Linked DNA regions of Homo sapiens: all the other regions are linked to region 3. Evidence: promoter capture Hi-C in 16 types of primary human blood cells and fetal thymus (Javierre and others, 2016). All regions are on one chromosome and are shown on one strand. Each heading gives the region's core, a stretch centred on a gene start or on the middle of the fragment in contact. The rest is flanking DNA. Distances are from core to core; before and after follow the strand shown. Region 1 overlaps FAM184A (family with sequence similarity 184 member A). Region 2 holds the start of TRE-CTC1-7 (tRNA-Glu (anticodon CTC) 1-7). Region 3 holds the start of HSF2 (heat shock transcription factor 2). Region 4 has its middle 1.8 kb from the start of MAN1A1. Region 5 overlaps MAN1A1 (mannosidase alpha class 1A member 1).

Region 1 (2,700 bases), core at 31-2,530, 3.3 Mb before region 3:
TAAAATGCAACAAATTAATCCAAACCACTCCACTATGACTAAAAGATTACATCCAAGCCACTGCATAACAGCATGGCAAAGCTACAATGTAACAAAGAAAAAGAGATGCTGCATTTGGCATGTACTAGTGCTAAGGTGAAACACAGCCAATTGCTATGTTTTATGAGGCCACTTACCATTCTTGTTCAAAGACTCAAGTCATAAGCAATATAGAATTATTATGAAAGAGTATCTAGATAATTCAAACAAACCAATTAGTGAAAAATCATTTATTTCATGTACAGAAAATAGTATTATTTGAAAAATTCACTGGTTTTGGTGTTATATAAACACATTCTGGTTTTGGATATAGTAAAAGCAGAGTTAGTATAAAATGACTGATCACAAGGCTTTTTTATATTTGCTAAGAAACTAGTATATTAATTACCTACATTCTGAAGTGTCAAATACTTATAATGTAGACAAAGAACATTATATTTGTATTTTTTACATCAAAAATACATTAAGAAATAAAATAGCTTTTTGAAGCAGTTTAAAGGGCAGTCAATAAACATTTACATATTTAGGAATAATTTAACTCAGCTGAAATGATCTATCATTAACCCAGAAGAGTAGCAGATACAATTCCTAAAAAGTACTGTCTTTCTCTGCTGTATAACAAAATTACTTGCTGTATCATTATGACCACCATCTTCTTCAGTAAATACTTATTAAGCTTTGGTACTATGTGCAAACCATTCATATTAAGGTTACATGTAATAAAAGATACAGTCCCTAGAGCTGAGAACCTTACAGTCAAATTATGAAAACAAAGTATATTTATAAACACAATAAACAGTATTTGCAAGTTTGCATTATTAAGTATCAAGTAAGAGGTACCAACAATCAATGCTAACGCACAGCAAGGAAAGCCCAACAAGGGTAGCTGGTCAGGACAGTTTTAGTAGAAGAGCCATAAGCTGGGTATTAAATAAGAGGACTTGATGCTAAGCACAGAAAACACAAAATAAACTACTTCCTGCTGTTTGGGAACTTACACTGTACCATATATTACTTATGTCTATACTAGTTAAGTGATAAACAGACTCTGTATCAAAAGTGCAATCAACTAAAGAGGGATTTGATAAGCAGCTAACATAACAAGGTATTAAAAGGGAAGTTTCTGCTGAGAACCAGAGACGATAGAAATGACATTCCAAAGCAGCTGCCAGAACATTCTCGAAAATGTCAAGAGGCAGTCTAAAGAAGAGTGCTGAGATGTGTTACTTTCCACCCCCACCACTAGTGAGGTGGTGCTTCAAGAAGATTACAGAGTAGGTTTCAGAGATTTCCCTGGGGAGAGCTGTGGTAACAGGGGCCTGTGTCTTCAAGGGGGAAGGGTGGAAGATGCTTGTCCCACACCTAAAGCCTAGGGAAAAAGGCTTTGAGGGAATGACTTGAAGAACTTGACATGTGCCTCAAGCACTTTGAAGAACATGCTAACCTGGTACCTGATTAATCCCCAGAAAATCTAAATGATGAGAAGCTGCATGAAGAGGCATGTGAGAACAAGAGAGAGGGCTGAACTGGGACCACTAGCAGAGTTTGTGCAAAGAATGAGTGCTCCCTATGTGGCCTCTACGGAAGAGTGAACAACCTGGGGTGGGATCACACAAGTCCATGCAAGAGGGGTATCTAGAGTTTGCACAGACCTCAGCAAAGTGGAGGTGAAGGTACTGCTAGCTCCAAGAGGCTGAGGAAGGAGTAAGCAACCAATCAGCGCATAAGGGAATTCTCACTGTCAAGGAATTGAGGTGAAAATCTAGAGCCACTGAGGTGGGAGGTAGAAGATTCACCAGTGAAAGAATAAGCTTTAAACATCTGCAACGGCTACAAAAGCACTGAAACTAGATCACCAGCTAGCTTCTTCACTAATCAAGTAAAAGTTTGCTGCTCCTCTTTACTCTTTTCACTTCTTCCTTGACCAACTTTGGAAGGGTGAGAAACCAGAACTGGCAAGACAAAGCAGGAAGAGTAGAAAAACCAGGTAAGAAGTAAAAAGGCAATAATACCCCCTTCCCTAGTTACTGGTTTCCCCCTTGCAAGAGACAGAGCAAGAGACCAGTTAAGGGAGAAGCTTCATCTTTATTTCAGGCTTGGTCTGCAGTTTTTACTTGTTGGTACTGGGCATTTTAATTTTAATAATCAAATTGAGACTTTTGTGACTTTGTTACTGAAGGATGATTTGTATTATCTAAAAGCAACCAGAAAAATTAAGTTAACCCATGAAAGAGGATGAACCAGTCTCAAAGAGTAAATTGAAAGAGACAAAAAGGGAAAAAAAGTAATTTGAAAGTGACAAAAAAAAAGCTTTTATAATTACATCCCACAAGGCCTGCTTTTCAACCTGATATCCTGAAAAGTCAACACAGTGGAGAGCACAGAAGTATACAAATGTGGTCTTATAAAACATAATTGAATCCATCCAGCTTCACTGCCTATCTTGAGATAGTTCAGCCATTAACATTTGCAGAAACTTGCCATAATGTAGCTCAAGAATCTAATATTAATTCTTAAAACTTGACACGAGTGACCCAAATATGCTAGACTTCCTTTAAAAGGCAGGGACTGTGTCTTGCTCCCTGCTGTATCTGTAACATTTTCCAAAGTCTCCCTTACATAAAAGGTGCTTAAAGAACTGGTGTTCTCCTTACCATGAGA
Region 2 (2,700 bases), core at 20-2,519, 3.4 Mb after region 3:
TCTTTTCTTCACCGCTACTTCCTTCTTGAAGCTCTCTTATCCTTTTATTACTACCTCTCTGACTACTCTTCCTTTTTTTTTTTTTTTTTTTTTTTTTTGAGACAGAGTCTCTCTGTCGCCCAGGCTGGAGGTCAGTGGTGCGATCTTCTTGGCTCACTGCAAGCTCCGCCTCCCACGTTCACGCCATTATCCTGCCTCAGCCTCCCAAGTAGCTGGGACTACAGGCGCCCACCACCACAAGGGCTATGTATTTTTTTTAGTAGAGACGGGGTTTCACCGTGTTAGCCAGGATGGTCTCGATCTCCTGACCTCATGATCCTCCCGTTTCGGCCTCCCAAAGTGCTGGGATTACAGGCGTGAGCCACCGCGCCCGGCCCCTCTCTGACTACTCTTTCACCATTTTCTACCTCTTCCCCTTCTTCTTTAATGTATACTCTCCTGGGTTTTTTCCTTGGTCCTCTCTCCTTTTTATAGGTTTTTTCTTTGGGAAGAGCTCAAATCTTCTCAAACTTTTAAGTTAATGGCTCCAAAATCTCTCCCTTCTACCCTAATTATCACCAAAATTCCCATTCTGTATTTCCAACCACATTTAGTTGTGCTGCCTCTGTGGGGCTCAAACTGAACTTACCTTCTCTTCTTCATCAGTTTCTCCATCTCAACCTTCCTATTACTTTTAATGCCACCCCAGTTTTACTAGCCACACAGAACAAATCAAGGATTCATAACTGATTCCTCCCTATTCTTAACCCTTTATATCCTATCAGACATCGAGTCCTCTTGGGTTCCCTTCGTAATTTCTTGACTTGTCTTAAGGTCTTCCATAATCTAGCTGCAGTCACCTATCTGCCCTCATCTCCACTGTTCCCCAGCGCAGGTTCCCTACTACAGCCAGTCTGACACAGTTAGTCCTTTTCGTTGCAAATACTAGACCATGGTCATCCTGGATCCCTTAGAAGCAATGTCCATTCTCCTTTTCTCAGGCATTCCGGATACTTCTAGCCTTTAGGTCCAGCTTGAAAAACAGTTTTCAAGCTCTATTTTGATTCTAGTGCTCACTTCCTTCTCCCTTCTTTTACCATATATCGTGATTATTTGAAGTACTTGATATGCAGCAAATAATCAATGAATGGTGCCAATTATTTTTGTTAATGGTGGCAACATATTTTTGTCTTAATTATCCAATGAAGTGAAAGCTTCTTAAGCACCAAAAATCACATCTTTTCTTAACCCCATGGCACCTATCACAATGGACTTCCTGGAACATTAAGTACTCAGCATTCTCCTCTTCCCAATCAGTCTCAGCACAGCTAAAAGGAGAGCAAAACAAACTCATTTTAGTTGCAATCAAGCTTTCAGTCTGTTTCTATGCTATGATGAAATTTCTCCTTAAAAAAAAAAGGCGGGGCCGGGCGCGGTGGCTCACGCCTGTAATCCCAGCACTTTGGGAGGCCAAGACAGGAGGATCACGAGGTCAGGAGATCGAGATCATCCTGGCTAACACGGTGAAGCCCCGTCTCTACAAAAAATACAAAAAAAAAATAGCCGGGCCTGGTGGCGGGCGCCTGTAGTCCCAGCTACTCGGGAGGCTGAGGCATGAGAATGGCATGAACCCGGGAGGCGGAGCTTGCAGTGAGCCAAGATCGCGCCACTGCACTCCAGCCTGGGCGACAGAGAGAGACTCCGTCTCAAATTAAAAAAAAAAAAAAAAAAATCCAACAGCTCAGTAAGTGGCAAAGGTTAGGATGGTTTAGAACTTTCAGGATCAAAAAAACCCTTAATGTCTATATAACACTATTTTTCTTTTTTTGACTCCAACATTGCCATATTTTCCTTTGAGGAACTCCCAGAATTCTACTTTACCCTGAATGTGGGAATTACTAATGATAAGTAGGTGCATTTTTGAGGGGCCTATATGGTTTATATAGTGGGAATTGATACTCTGGATGTAACACATTTACCATATTTGTGTAAATCTCTTAGAGAAAATTTAAAGTTAGCCAAAAAAACATTAACTAAATGGGTTATTAAAACACAATAAACTAGCTATGTCCAACCATACATCTCAGAAAAGATCTCATATTTATAGAGATGAGAGTAGGAATAGCTCCAATATAGGCAAATAATCTCCAAAGTACATAATCTTAATGTACAGAAAAACTAAAAATTAACTCTAAGCATGATACTGAATAAGTATTATTCCTCATAAAACTATCTTCCTCTTTTATTAGTCAAACAAAATCAAGGTTAAACAAAGGCTTAACTGACTGCTTGTAAACACATCCAAATTATTTTTAAAAACTGAAAAATACAATTTTAGAATCACAGAACTTTATGTTATTTGATTGATTATAAATTACATTACCTGTAAATAGAGATGGCGTATTTTAAGCCTTAGATTAAATAAACTTTTAAAACGGTCAATTTTTAATGATTAAAAAACCCCAACAAGCGAATGAAAAGTACATAAAACTTATGATTTAAAAAGAAAAAAAAAACTATAAAGAAAAAAAAAAACTATGAAAAAAAAACCCAACCAGCAAGTGAAAACTACACAAAACTCTTGACTTCTAAATTGCATGAAGGATACGAATGTCAAGAAAAACAAGACTTCCCTGACCGGGAATCGAACCCGGGCCGCGGCGGTGAGAGCGCCGAATCCTAACCACTAGACCACCAGGGAACTTGCACAACGCTTCTTCC
Region 3 (2,700 bases), core at 121-2,620:
ATTGGGTTGTTGTGAGGATTCAATAATATATGTAAAGCCCTTGGCATATATAAGGGCTCATCAAATATTACTTCCTCTATCACATGCATGCCTCCATATATCTGATTTTGCTTCAGCCAACATCCCAGTGCTGAGCACAAAGGCAGCATTCACTAAATACTTGCTCATTGGAAGAGATATACATATATCTTCCATTAAATGATAGATATATATTTAATGTACTATTTTACATTCACCCAAGAAGTAAACCAATCCTATGTTGAAGTTTTGTATGTTATCTCTGACTTGTTTGTAAGTTTTTGCCTTCACATGCTGACTTTTGTAAAAAAAAAAAGTCGAATTTTGTAGACTTCATATTTTCAAAGCATTTGCACAGCCATTATAGTATTAAAGACACTCTTAGTGGGTAAAAAGATAGATCTTATTCCCAGTCAAGAAATGGAAAAAACTGGCACTGGTGGCTAAGGAATTGTTCTAAATGACAGAACCAGTGTATTTTAATATACAGAAAAATGTCCAAGAGGCTTTATCTAAACTGAGATCTACTGACTCCTTTTCCATTGTTTTTTCCACTATACCAATCTCTTAGGCAAAAAAGACTATATCTGTAAAGTATACGCAGGAAAAACTATTTTAATTAACTAAAATAGTACAAATGAGTCTATTTCTTTTTATTCTGGGTACAGAGTAGGCACTTGATGACTGGATTAAAAACAGCACATGATATATCAATTGCAGTTCCTGGTTTACAGTTTTAAGTAATCGAGAGTGAGTTATTTAAACTGCTCTTTTTGATAAACATATTTTAAAGAGGGCTTTTTCTCCCAATGAAAATGTAAGAACAAGTTTCATTATTTTTAAGACAATTTCAATTTGGGGCCTAGCACATCATGCTTGAGAGCTGGTTTTTTCCTTATGCAAATGGATCCTTTCTCTAAACTGGTGCAAACCACACTTTGCCTGCCAAACTTATGACTCAAAGGCCCTGAAGGGTTTCTGTAGCCTCCCAGCCACAGCCCAGAAACCATAAGCTGTTTCCACGTGAAACATCCAAACACGGTCTCCCAAGCCTAAGTCTGCTACCATCAAGGCTTCTGTATAAAAGGCAAATGAGGAGGCAGCGCCCCCTTCTGCTCCCACCCCCTTCTGCTCCCACCCCCTTCATGTCAGCAGCAGCCAATCGCTTTTCTCTGTCGTGCAGTCGGCTCCTGGGATTGGCCAGGGACGGGACAGGCGCGGAACCACTGCGCGCACAGGCGGAGCGCGGAGACTTGTCCGTCACGTGCGGCCGCCCGGCCTCTCGGCCTTGCCGCGCGCCTGGCGGGGTTGGGGGGGCGGGGACCAAGATCTGCTGCGCCTGCGTTGTGGGCGTTCTCGGGGAGCTGCTGCCGTAGCTGCCGCCGCCGCTACCACCGCGTTCGGGTGTAGAATTTGGAATCCCTGCGCCGCGTTAACAATGAAGCAGAGTTCGAACGTGCCGGCTTTCCTCAGCAAGCTGTGGACGCTTGTGGAGGAAACCCACACTAACGAGTTCATCACCTGGAGCCAGGTACGGTCAGGCCACGGCGGCCTCTGAACCCCCTGAATAACCGCCTCCTCACTCGCTCTCCTGCGGGGTGGTCTCTCGCGGCCTTGCGGCTCGACGCTGTCTGCGAGGCCCGCGGTGCGGGGCCTTGGCGTTCAGCCTCGCGGGGGACCCCCTGTATTGTTCGCTCGGGGAGCCGCGGGGGCCCGGCCGGCAGCGCCGCTCTCCTCAGGCCGCGGTGGGGGAGGGGCGGCCCGCGCGGGGCGTAGCGGCCCAGGCAGCCCCTTAACGGTCCGGTCCGCGTTCGGAACCGGCCCGGCGTCGCGAGGGGAATCGGCGAGCCGAGGGCGCGGGAGCCTCTTTACTGCACACTCATCCTCCGTCCTCCCGCCCGGCTCAGGGGTTACAAATCGCGGAGGGGACAGGGAGCCCAGGGCCAGGATCATCAACGTGGGGCTTTATAGGAGGCGATCTTTACCTCAGCGACCGATCACCCCCAGTTCCCCCAACATTGCTTTGCATCTGGCATCTTTATGTGGAGAGCAGTCAGGGCAATAGACATACGTTCAAACGCAGGTTACTGCTTATCAGTTGGTTTTAAAAATATATAGAAATTAACAAATTATTCTTTTGAGATTCTGTGCTATTTGTATAATGGGATTATTAGGATTGTTTTAATAAAGTACTAATAGGTGGTAACTTAGTAGTTACTAAATTTCGCTGAACAGTTACCAGCAGAGGGGCATATCGATGTGTTGATTATTGGTTTGATCTCAACTCTGCTTCTAAACAAGCATGACCTTAGTCCAGCCCTTTATCTTGTCTGGCCTAAGTTAAATCTTTCATAAGATGGATGGGTTGCCTAGGTGACCCAAGACCTATATCAGTCCCAAATACAAGATTTTAGGCAGAATGATTATTTACATCCACAGTGCATGTGCATTAGAATACACTCCTAGGCTGTTGGAATCATTTTTATGAAGGAAAGTGGTTAACTCTTATTGTAGATGATCACCTATTGAGGCATATTTTCATATGTGTAGTTCTTGAGAAGAATAAGTGAAAACTACCTGCATAGTGCCTGGCACCTGTTAAGTGCTGAGTAAATGTTATCTCCCGTCCTCCTTTCTTTCCTGTTCTCCTATTATAGGAACTCTTAGTTTTATTTACTTTTG
Region 4 (2,700 bases), core at 70-2,569, 3.0 Mb before region 3:
ACGGCTTTACTCCAGTTACCCTCTTTTTATCCAAGGCCGGGGTTCCCCGGGTGCCTGGTAGCAGTGAAACCCCAAGTCCCTCGGTTAGGGGAGCCGTGACCCTGGGAGCTTTTGAGCTCTCTGGTATAACATCCTTTTACATCCTAAGAGACACAGTTCTGTGCTTGCTTAGGACTTTTTTCGTATGCGCCCTTTCTTCCCCCAAAAAACAAAAAACCGAAAAAACTTGTATGTCTCTCCCGCCCACCCGTACTTTCACTATTCATTTACCTCATAGAAGTTGGTCAAATTTTCCATTCGAAGACGAGTTTTATGCTGCGGTAGCTTCAAGCAATAAGTCGAACACTGTGTTGAAATTAAGTCTTGGATCCGACTACTTCCAGCGAAGTGAGGAGTTGGTCCAATAGAAATTATTTTCCAAAATGTGTTGTAATTCTCCTGTTGCTCCACAAATAAGGGGTTATCAGAGAGGAAAACGTTGACTGACTTCGCATTTCTGAAAGCTGGTTTGTAGTCGCCTTATTTCATCCTTACCCTTCTCTGGAAATGTGACATTAGTTCTGTTTGTGCTTAAGACAAAGGAAACAGCTGGCACCTTTCGGGAAGGTGGCTCCAGTACAGTTGTTTCCAGGTGTTAAGCTGTATGAGAAAGTAGAAAAGTAATCAGAAATCCTTACTAGTTTTCATTTAATCATTTAATTATTAATTTTAACCATCATTATTTGTCGTCTACTTGTTTTGTGTAAAATGAGTAATACACTCAAAGTTCTTGTTAATAGGAAATTATTGTTTGATAAAGCTGGCTTTATGGCTTGGTTATTTTGATACCTGCTATGAAATTCTATGTCCAGAAGAGTGCAGCATATCCAAGCAGGGTAATAAGTTCAGAAGGACTGAAAAAGAAAACAAAGATGATTTTTCTTTAATGATGGAAAGGCAATTTTTATTTCAAACGATTATGCATTTGTAGGTTGTGCATAGGCTGAAAGGTTTGAATCACTGTGAAATAATGTTTCTAACAACATCCTTAAAACTGAGTTACCTCTTGAATGGATAGATAAATAGGAACTGGGTTAACTACCCCAAACGCTAATCTCTTTATGATCATCCTTTTTTGGAATGATTTATTATTTTAAAAATTATGTTGTAAGAATGGAATTATAGCCCCGGAAATATTTAGAAGCTTTATTTCAAATTAATGTTATTAAGTATTCCAGCAAAACAATAAATTCCACTTTTAAGTATATGTTAAAATGGTGATAAATAAAAGTTATAACTTAATTCTATTTCTGACACTTTAATTTTGATACCAAATCAGTTTGGGCATTTAACTTCTGTAGTGGAAATATTAAAAATTTAGTACGTGGGTTTAAGGATTTTTTCCCCTAAAAACTTTAAATTTATCTATGTTGTTTCTACATCTTTTAAAGTAACTATTCTTTTTAAGTTCATCATGAAGCTTATTTTAAGATTTTTTTCTTATTTTCCGTATTTCTTAAATGACAGGGTTATACTTGCAGCCTGGCTTTGATAATATGTTAAACAAGAAGTTAACATGGGTGGTTGATTATAGGTACATATTAAAGGGTGTCTGTGTACATTAGGTGGGATAAGAACTATATAGGAACACCAATATTTGGGCCAGAGCAAATTTGAAAAATTCACAAAGAAGGTATCTGAAGAGGCATAGCAATCGAATTATGCATCCTCTTTAAAATAATCACATGAAGCCCTGTGTGCTCATGGTAAGGGAGGAGTAGAAAATAGTCAACAAGTAAAATTGTGCATTTTGTAGAAGCAAAATCGGACACTTTCCTCTGATTTCAGTACTACAAAGCACTTGACATTCTACCATTGAAAAAAGTACTTTGTACCCTGAGATAAAAATAAAGGTGATTGGTTCTTGTCTTTTAAGTAATGAAACCTTGACTTTGTCCCCTAAGTCAAGACTCCCTAGCCACATCTACCTGAAGGTAATGTCACCATCTTTATGAATGCAATGATAGTGCTGAAATTGCTGTTTCTCATTATGGATGGTCTAATGTAAACCTAAGAACCTTAGTAATTTTGTGGGATTTTTAAAAAAATACTTGCTATGTTTTTTTATTTGGCCAGCCAGTCCTTTTGAAGTATAACTCTCTTGTAATTTTTGCAGGTTTGCTTGCAAACTTAATTCTTACATTTTCCTTTTTCAATACTTAATGTTTTTGTGTATTTCTTTGATAATTTGTAAATTTTTGTGTTTCAAGATTATATCTTTGAATCAAGTAATTTTTTAAAAACCTGATCATCAGTGATACCACAAAACACTACAAAGAAATCCCCAAATAAATGTTGTTGCTTAGATTTTTCTACTTTCAAAAGAAATTACCAAAAGGTAGATTTAATTTTTACATTAACATGCCTAAAATGAAATATAGTAATAATTATGAGCAGACTTACAGAGGAAAAATTGGCAATATTTTTATAAAACTGATAAATTTATATTTTTATAAAATTATAAGTTCTCAAAAATTGAAGTGCAAAAACATTTCTTAGGAAGTTTCTAGGCAGTACTAGTTAGAAGTTTGTGGAAGAATCCTTTTGAGGATTTTTGTTCTCTTACTTTAAATAAAACTTAATCTAGTGAAAGAAATGAATTTAATCTACATGTACAGTAAATAATGACTGAAATTCTCCAACAAGTTAGATTTCTGATAA
Region 5 (2,700 bases), core at 72-2,571, 3.1 Mb before region 3:
CATCAACAGCAAGCAGATTTTAAATTCTAAGATTGAAAAATATAGACCTAGGGGGATTTTAAAAAGCTTGGGAAAAGAGACCCAAATATCCTCGTGCCCAACAAAGAATATCTTTCCTTTTATTAGTTGGTTTTTATTAAACAATTCCTGCCTTGAAGTCTAACATGAAATACTTTAAAAGTTAAAAATTATATCATAGATTAAAAGCTTTCTATTGTTTTAGGTTGAATCATAAGAACTTAAGTGTACCTCGTATGTTAAGACTAAAACAGCCAAAATGTTCTTCTGAAAATCTTTAAGAGTATAATGTTCCAATAAAAGGAAGTAAACTTTTAGAACATTAGTTGGTGTTCTGTTTCCAAATCTAATCCTCCAGGCATAAACTACATTTAAGGAGCAGATTAAAACCACCCAAGAACAAATTATTAATTCAGTTTTCCATTTCACTCTTGAATTCTTGTCTTAAATGCACTAGGAATCTCTGCTGCCAATGTAGTTAAAGCTGCAGCAGCTCTAATAATCAACGGATATTATCACAAAGGGTGGATACATCCTAAAATGAAAGCACCATATGCCTAATTATTGAGCTAAATTTACACATGTAGTTATCTCTGAATGAAACATTTTCAGCTTTTCAGCTCACAAAAATTATTTCTTTCTATGCCCTGAAGGTATTTCTCCAGATTTCTTTATCCCTGGCTTTCTTTCCTCCCCACATATCTGAGTGTTGTGTGACAGCAGGCCCAGAAGTCAGAAGTAACTGGACACTGATGAATGAATGAGGAACCACTCCATTCAACACCCTCTCTATGGTTTTCCTGAGGATGAGCATCCCTTCTGTGTAATAACAATTCTAACAAGGCAAAATAATGCTTACTTTCCTGCCATAGGAAGTGAGAAATTTGGCAACAACAACTAAAAGGGGAGGCAACAATAGAAAATAGAAGCTATTGGTCAATACAGCAATACTGCAGCCAAAACATACTTTTCTTTCCTGGAAATGACTTTCTGAATCCAATTTACCTACCAACCCCTTTCCTTATCACTCCTACCAATTCCTAGCTGCTAGTAAGTACATACTATGTATTGAATAATGAATGATACATGCCAGGCATTGCGCTGAGAGATTCACATACATTTTCTATTTTAATTCTTACAACAACTCTGAAAAAGAGGAATTATTAACTCCATTTCAAAGGCGTGGAAAGGGAGGACAGAAGTGTTTCTACTCTGCCATACTGCCTCACATTTATAAAACATTTTGTTGATATACTTAATCTGGGTTACATTTAGGATGAATTGCCTTTTATTGTCAAATTCTGGGCCACGGACCTATGAGATAAAAAAGGTGTCCCCACTTCTAGGGTGTCTGAAATCTACTTGAAAGATAACATATATGCACACAAAATCAGTGACACACAGGCCAAAGATAGAAATAATCAATAACATGGGAATTTGGAGAAGGGAGAAATCAGTGAAGGTTGAGAGTGTAGAGAGGGCTTCATGAGGACATGGATTTTGAGCAAGTGAGAAGACTCTCCTTTTGAGAACCATAAAGTAAACAAGGTGAAATCCTAAACGACATGTGTTCTGGAGATAGTAACTATGTAAGTTTTGTGGAAGCACAGTCCTTCCTGGGAAGTAACAGAGATACAACTCAACAAATAAACTGATGCAGATTTACAGAAGACTACGGATGCCAAGCTAAACATTTGTGACTTCACTGTGACTTCATTCTAGAGCAAAATGTTTTTCTAGCTGAAGTCACTGGACCAGAAGCATCAGTATCACCTAGCAACATGCTAAAAATGCAAATTCTGGGGCCCACCCAGGCCTACTGAATCAGAAACTCCAGGCTTTCAAAATTTTTTTATTATTATTTTTTTTGAGACAGAGTCTCACTCTGTCACCCAGGCTGGAGTGCAGTGGCACAATCTCGGTTCACTGCAACCTCCGCCTCCTGGGTTCAAGTGATTCTTCTGCCTCAGCCTCCCGAGTAGCTGGGACTACAGGCTCACGCCACCACACCTGGCTAGTTTTTGTATTTTTCGTAGAGACAGGGTTTTACCACGTTGGCCAGGCTGGTCTTGAATTCCTGGCCTCAAGTGATCCTCCCTTCGGCCTCCCAAAGTGCTGGGATTACAGGTGTGAGCCACTGCGCCCGGCACCAGCAATCTGTTTTAACATGCCCTCCAGGTGATTCTGATGCATGTTGAAGTCTGAATCATTACTTTATAGGAAATGGAGGACCATTAAAACCTGAGTTGGGCAATACGAGAGAAGTGATGTTTTAGGAATATTAATAGTCATCTGTAGAATAAACTGCAAAAGGGACCACTGACAAATGCATAAAATTCATTGAGCCTCTACCATGCAATTATTTATATGACACAGCACTTTTCAGGAGAAACAATATGAAATTGGGAAATAGAAAACCAAGCTTCTTTCTCTTTCTCAAAATATCACACCTTCTTAGGGAGGAACATGTTTATGTAATTCTGATTTCTCTAGTGGAAAATAATAGCTAACCTATGACTTTTCATTTTAGTGTGGTACTGTAAGCATTACTCATTAAGACACCTTTATCTCTCAAAAAATTTTGCCAAAATGGAAACAAAACAAAACCAACTCTAGGTATATCCTGTATAAAATTGAAATACAAGAAAAATGGCAACCCTTATTAAATACTGTCCAGTATTC

The links. The method cuts DNA at HindIII sites, captures the fragments that hold promoters and counts their contacts. A CHiCAGO score of 5 or more calls a contact.
Region 1: a contact is called between a fragment that was not itself captured here and the fragment with the promoter of HSF2 in region 3, in 2 of 17 cell types (naive CD4 T cells and activated CD4 T cells). The highest score is 9.1, in naive CD4 T cells.
Region 2: a contact is called between a fragment that was not itself captured here and the fragment with the promoter of HSF2 in region 3, in 3 of 17 cell types (total CD4 T cells, non-activated CD4 T cells and activated CD4 T cells). The highest score is 10.6, in total CD4 T cells.
Region 4: a contact is called between a fragment that was not itself captured here and the fragment with the promoter of HSF2 in region 3, in 5 of 17 cell types (total CD8 T cells, activated CD4 T cells, total CD4 T cells and 2 more). The highest score is 12.4, in total CD8 T cells.
Region 5: a fragment that was not itself captured here is called in contact with the fragment with the promoter of HSF2 in region 3 in 3 of 17 cell types (naive B cells, total CD4 T cells and non-activated CD4 T cells); the score reaches 12.4 in naive B cells.

The regions. Positions count from the first base shown.
Region 1 is chr6:119,072,265-119,074,964 of GRCh38, forward strand. The region is part of intron 1 of FAM184A (family with sequence similarity 184 member A); the gene reads right to left. Among named protein-coding and RNA genes, the nearest start is that of MIR548B, 4.5 kb to the left of the region's middle. The HindIII fragment of the contact is 1,135 bases long and covers 714-1,848 here.
Region 2 is chr6:125,777,639-125,780,338 of GRCh38, forward strand. It overlaps TRE-CTC1-7 (tRNA-Glu (anticodon CTC) 1-7), which reads right to left and starts at 2,680; the gene lies at 2,609-2,680. RefSeq lists a silencer at 2,531-2,700. The HindIII fragment of the contact is 156 bases long and covers 1,192-1,347 here.
Region 3 is chr6:122,398,282-122,400,981 of GRCh38, forward strand. It overlaps HSF2 (heat shock transcription factor 2), which reads left to right and starts at 1,371. Exons shown (of 13, transcript NM_004506.4): 1 at 1,371-1,549. The coding sequence starts at 1,457. RefSeq lists silencers at 1,107-1,426, 1,697-1,816 and an enhancer at 1,667-2,166. The HindIII fragment of the contact is 3,471 bases long and covers 1-2,700 here.
Region 4 is chr6:119,350,257-119,352,956 of GRCh38, forward strand. It overlaps a transcript of MAN1A1 not described here. Among named protein-coding and RNA genes, the nearest start is that of MAN1A1, 1.8 kb to the left of the region's middle. RefSeq lists a silencer at 1-65. The HindIII fragment of the contact is 276 bases long and covers 1,182-1,457 here.
Region 5 is chr6:119,334,201-119,336,900 of GRCh38, forward strand. All of the region lies in intron 2 of MAN1A1 (mannosidase alpha class 1A member 1), which reads right to left. Among named protein-coding and RNA genes, the nearest start is that of MAN1A1, 14 kb to the right of the region's middle. The HindIII fragment of the contact is 2,233 bases long and covers 206-2,438 here.